Linked DNA regions of Homo sapiens: region 1 is linked to region 2. Evidence: promoter capture Hi-C in human tissues and cell types (Jung and others, 2019). All regions are on one chromosome and are shown on one strand. Each heading gives the region's core, a stretch centred on a gene start or on the middle of the fragment in contact. The rest is flanking DNA. Distances are from core to core; before and after follow the strand shown.

Region 1 (2,719 bases), core at 170-2,669, 370 kb after region 2:
TGGTTTCATGGGGCACATAATTCTTGGCAAATCAAATTCCTTGAACCTCCTAAGGCTGCTGGACAGGAGCTTCAAGAATTATGAGTTTTCAGAGTCTGAAGATAGCTATTCAATTTAACCAACTGTAGCAACTGATTTAATTAAGTAGTCACTCTGGTTTAAGGCTCTGCACTTCTTCAGATGCTATTTAACGATTCTGTCTTCCGCTTGAATTTGACTCCAAATCCACCCTAATATCCATAGGCAGTTAGAATTAATCAGTGCTTCCCACTCAAACCCACTCCAAGTCCAAAAAAAAAAAAAGAATGATTAATTTGTCTAGCTGCAGTCACCAACGTTGTAGAGGACATCACTGCCCCCTGGTGGAAATACTAAAAACTGTTCTGGGACTGTTCCCAGAAAGATCAAAATCTATACAGAAAAAACTAACTTGTTAGTAATCTGCACATTGAAAGGTCATGACGTCCCAGTGACCATGTTATTATCCTACTCTCTTTTCCCCTCCTTAATTTCTCAATTCGTAGCTCAAGTTGCTTCAGGCATCTACAACGCATCATCAGATGGTCTCCCAGTGACACTGGAATACGAAATTTCCTCAGTGGATGTGCATTACCAAAACACCAGTGACCACTTCAGGACAAATCAAAAGGTTGTCTTCATGTAGCATAACGTTGTCTAAATTTAGGAGAGCTTTAGTTCATGCAGCTACTGAAAAATCTGGCTTCTGTGCATACTTGGCAAATTTGCAAATCACCTCTTAATTCTTCCCCAGTTTTTTTTTTTTTTTTTTTTTTGTGGGTGGAGGAGGATTTCCCCAAATTTAGGGAAAAAAAAGCCTAGGTTTTTTTTTTTCTGTTGAAAAAATGGAATGAATGAGGTGAGTGAGCCTCAGGGCCTTTTATTTTCCCCTGCCAGTGTAAGACAGAGAAAACAGTGTAGGAGCTGCTGTCATAAAAAAAAGCCTTCCCCAATGACTCCTGTTTACTCTTTGGAACTCCAAGAGTTTATTTTCTAAACCATGGATGCTAATCCTGGATGCTCATCAAGATCATCTGAAAAGTTTGCCATTTTGTTCTTACTGCTATTGTGTTATATTATTGTTTGATACAGATTCATAATTACTGAATTGTTATTTCAGAGAATGGGGAACCAAATTGTTTTCATGAATGAATGAAGTCTCTAAGTAAACCCTAATCTTCTTAGAACAATATTTCCTTCATAACTGACTTTATACAAATTAATTCTTTTCTCTTTCCCAATTGCCACCACTTTCATTCATACACCAGCATCATCCATGAGCTATTGCAATGGGCATAATATATTATGGCACACAGGAGATTGTCTTCCCATCCATCCTCAACACCACTTTCAGAATCATATTTTTAGACACCAGATAGATCCTATTATTTCCCTAAATAAAAGCTTTCAGTGGCTCTTCATTAAACATAAGATAAAATTCATATTCCTTAGCATGACATACAAAAGCTATGTTTCAATACCTACAACTAATATATCAATCAAAAAACGTTTTTTAAGTCTATGCTTCGGCCATGACCAAAAACTTATAGTTCCCCCAAATATGCCATACCATTTCAAGCCTCTTAACCTTTGCCTAAAGCCCTGCTTAGACTGCTTTTTCCCCATGTCTACCCATTTCTACCCATTTCTGCAGGACATTTATTTTTCCAGACTCGCAATTTCCCTCTTTTTAAAGCACTTTCCTAACCTCTTTCTTCTTCCCATGTAGAACTGACCATAGTACTTATAACACTTGACTGTACTCGCTAGTCCACCTCCCTCTGATAATTAGAATGGCCATAAGGGTGAGAGAATTATGCCTGAATGATTTTTGTATCTAGAAAAAATTACTGTTGAATGAATGAGTGAAGGAATGAATAAAAATGCCCAACACATACGCAAGTGCATATTTGACTCAGTTTACATTTCTCCATTGCCAAACTGATGGGAAAAAAAGTGTAAACTCATATGATTGAGCAGACATGATTAAAAACTTAGCACCCAAGAGCCCTTCCTCAGGCAGAAGGTGAAATGAGTAGCTTCATCTGACAGGTCACAATAGCCCCACCCACAGCTGGGAGAAATCAGCTCACATTGAAGGAGCTAGGTCCTGGGGTAGCCACTGCCCCTTTCCCCTGGATTCTGTAAGAGCTTGATTCGCCCGTACTATAATGTATATTTAATTATATTACTTAATAAATCGTCAGCATTTACTTTACTTGAATCATGATTTTACTTGCATGAGTACATCAACTTGATATGTAAGCCTATACTTCTCTAATACGAAATAGTTAAGAATCAAAAAAAAAGTTTTTGAGCACTCAATTTAATATAAAACATTAATAATAAATAAACATTGCCCTTCCAGGTTTTTAAACCCATGGAAACATAATGCATCTATATTAACGTGAAACTTCATGCATGTATAATCATTATTAAATAAGTAGATTCAGTTTTCATCCTTTAGACAGTCTTTAGCAGTGTAGTATATGACAATAAATGAAAAGTGTATCAATCAAAGTTTCATAGTCCTCTCTCTGCATAAAGAAATATGAGGGAGGAAAATGAAAACTAAATAGATTGGCAGGCAGAAAATGCTGATACTGTCCTTCATCCACATTTGGAATAGTTCTCTGGTCTCTCTCTTCCTAAAATAACCTATGCAGTGAGTCAAATAATTTCTTTCTTCTTTGGTAAAACT
Region 2 (3,017 bases), core at 359-2,858:
TGTCCCCTACCCTCAAATAATACTTCTACTACGGTTGCTGGTGCTCGAATTTTCACCCCCAGAAAAGAATTCCTTTGGCTTTAGGCTCAGTTTGTGAAAATGCAAAGTCAAGATTGATGGAATTTTAAACTTATTTACATCAAGATCACCCAAATTTGTTAGATATCTTCAAGGCAAGTTTGCTAAGGAAAGGAAAGGGAGGATGTGAGGGCATAAAAACAATCTTAGGGCAAAAATGGATAAATGAGGAGCCAGTTTTCCAGTGAGACAGACCCAATTATGCAAACAAGGGAGTGGGCTCCAGGGTCAATATTAATTCGCAAATTAGTGGCCAGTACCAATTTAGCACCATCGCTCATCTCCTTCTCAAAATCATCTATGATATAGCGGTGATGCTGCTTTATTTACAGGGCAACTAACCGAAAGGTCAGGACAACGAGTTTGCAATTTACAGTCTCTGGACAGGGTTGAAAGTCAGTTTTTTTTTGTTTTTTTTTTTTTTTTGAGATGGAGTCTTGCGCTGTCGCCCAGGCTGGAGTGCAATGGCAAGATCTCAGCTCATTGCAACATCCACATCCCGGGTTCAAGCGATTCTCCTGTCTCAGTCTCCCGAGTAGCTGGGACTACAGGCGCGTGCCACCACGTCCGGCTAATTTTTGCATTTTTAGTAGAGACGGAGTTTCACCATATTGGCCAGGCTGGTCTCGAACTCCTGACCTCGTGATCCACCCGCCTTGGCCTCCCAAAGTGCTGGGAATACAGGCGTATAAACTGTACTGAGCCACTGCGCCCGGCCGAGAGTCAGTTTTTACAAGCACTCAGATGTGGGCCCGAAAACAAATCAAAACAAAAGTCGTGACTTCCCAGATCTTAGGTAAGGCATAGATTCGTCTGCAAGGAGGGCCGAAATCTCTACCTATCAGGCAAAAGGCAAAAAGCCCGGAAGGGTCGGGGAGAAGCAAGCTGGAAGGCTCCAGGAAGTGGGTGGGGAGGAAGCTGCCGGGGTTGGAGCCAACCCTAGCAACAGCAGGTTTGCACACGCCTAGCAGAGGAAGTCCCGGGCCTAAGCGTGCAGCGGTCACAAGAGCTTTTGGCAGTGCTGTCCCCTTCGATTCCGGTCATCACCCAACCATCCAGCCCGGGTTTGGGGCGGAAAACCGGCTTGTAAAGTGGGCGGCGGCCGGTGTTCCCACAGCTGAGTCACAGCCCAGCCAACTTTTACAGCGTTTCCCAGAAAGAAAATACAAAGTCTCAGTCCCGGAGCCCACCGCTTCTAATTCCCGCTCCCCTGTGTCACCTGACCCGGGGTAACTCCAGCCCCACTACTGAGATATTTCCCACTCATGGCGCAACTTCTTGCCTGCGCAAAGCCTCGTGGTACCCCGAGCGCTCTCCAAGTGCTACCAACCCCACAGATGAGAGGGCAGGAGAGAGGGGAAGGGCTGCGTCCTCACCTGCAGGACACGGACACCTCCACCCGCGTGGCCGGGATGGCAGCGCTCAGCTGGTTCAAGTCCCCGATGCCCGCAGTGCTGTTGTAGCGGCTGTCCATATTGGGAGGAGGCGCCTTGGACTTGTCCGGCGCCCACAACCACAGCTCGGGCGGACTGAGGGCTAGCTCCCGTCAGGCGGGGATGGGGGTTGAGGGTGGAGGCAGAAGAAGGAGGCGGAGGCAGCGCGCGGGATGGGGGAGGGAAGGGAGGAGGCGGACCTCCGCGCAGAGCCACGAGGGAACCGCTAGCCAGTCCTGGGTGAAACTGACGCTGCCAGGCAAGTGGCGCGCGGGGATCCCGGTTTCCCAGCCCCCTTCCGGCAGGCAGCAGCCCGGGCGGGGGACACACTCCGTGATCCCCTCCTGGCTGGAGGGGTCAGGCTTGGTGGACCCAGCAAGCAGCCTGATGGAGAAGGTGGCACCAGACGCAGACCCCTACCGTCCAGGACCGCAAGCCCTCGCCGGCTCTGCGTGCTTTTAGGTTTTGTCTCCACCTCTGCACACCCACACTCGCCTCCTGGGCCGCGACAGCTTCCTTCTGTCAATCAGGTGTGGACGGGAAGGTCTCGAAGTTTCCTCGCCTGAGTTGAAAGCTGGAGGTGGGGGCACCTCTGCCCGTTCCTAACTGCCCCGTTATAAGGTCCCCCTCCCCACAATTGGTTCTCACCTCGCCCTCGGAGCTCTTGGGAGATCCCTCCGTCCCTCCTACTGTGCCCTCGGGCAGATGAGTCTGGTCCCAGCTTCTGGACTGCCCACTGTCGGCCACTTGAGAGTTGGGGACGGTGGGGCATTGTGACGCTCTCCAACCTTGGAACACGGTGGCAAAGTGGCCGATCAATATATGGGACAAGTGGGGGCGGGGGGGCGGACTCTAAGGTGGAAAAAACAATACTACTTGGGATTTAAGGAAGCAATCTGGATTCTGTCTCCCCTTGGTTCTTCGGAGCTTAGAGGTCTAACGGCGACATTCCTCCTACAGTAAGGGCTCTTCTGGGTCCCTCGTTTCCAAAGGCATGAAAGTTCTGACCTGAAAATGGGGGCCGGGGAGGGTGATGTCACAACCATATAACGCAGCTCCTTCAGCCGACTCCCACCCGCAAGAACTGAGACCTGACGGATAAAAGCAGAGAGGAGTCAGAGTGAGCGCTGCGTTTGGGAAACTGCATTCCAGGGCAGCAAGACTGGTGCCAAGACGGAGTCGTGGCAAAAGCATCCGGAGGTAGACGAGGCGCCCCTCCACTGCAGGGACCTTTGTTCCCCGCGCCTTCCCTCCTGCCTCACCCGAGCGCCTGCGGGTCCCGGGAGCTCGCCACCAGGCGGCGACGGAGAACAGGATGCGGCGCAGCTGGAAGGCAGAGGGTGGAGAGGGGGCGGGTGTCCGTCCGATTTAACGCTCCAAGCACGGAGTTTCCAGCTGGTTGGGCTAAGTCTGGGAGGAGCAGTTTTTGCGGTGGAGGACTTGCCTTGCGTTGTAACATTTTAATCCACTTGCAGCCTCCTGCCTAGAGAATCTATAGAGGCGGGT

What was found. Contacts are between HindIII fragments. The study calls those that stand out against the background at their distance.
Region 1: a fragment that was not itself captured here is called in contact with the fragment with the promoter of CPNE8 in region 2 in 1 of the 25 tissues and cell types used here (dorsolateral prefrontal cortex).

Annotation. Positions count from the first base shown.
Region 1 is chr12:39,273,013-39,275,731 of GRCh38, forward strand. No RefSeq gene overlaps it. Among named protein-coding and RNA genes, the nearest start is that of LINC02406, 130 kb to the left of the region's middle. The HindIII fragment of the contact is 5,121 bases long and covers 1-2,719 here.
Region 2 is chr12:38,903,983-38,906,999 of GRCh38, forward strand. CPNE8 (copine 8) reads right to left here and starts at 1,609. Exons shown (of 20, transcript NM_153634.3): 1 at 1,455-1,609. The coding sequence starts at 1,552. CPNE8-AS1 (CPNE8 antisense RNA 1) reads left to right here and starts at 1,730. Exons shown (of 2, transcript XR_007063275.1): 1 at 1,730-3,015. RefSeq lists a silencer at 1,594-1,763 and an enhancer at 2,894-3,017. The HindIII fragment of the contact is 9,063 bases long and covers 1-3,017 here.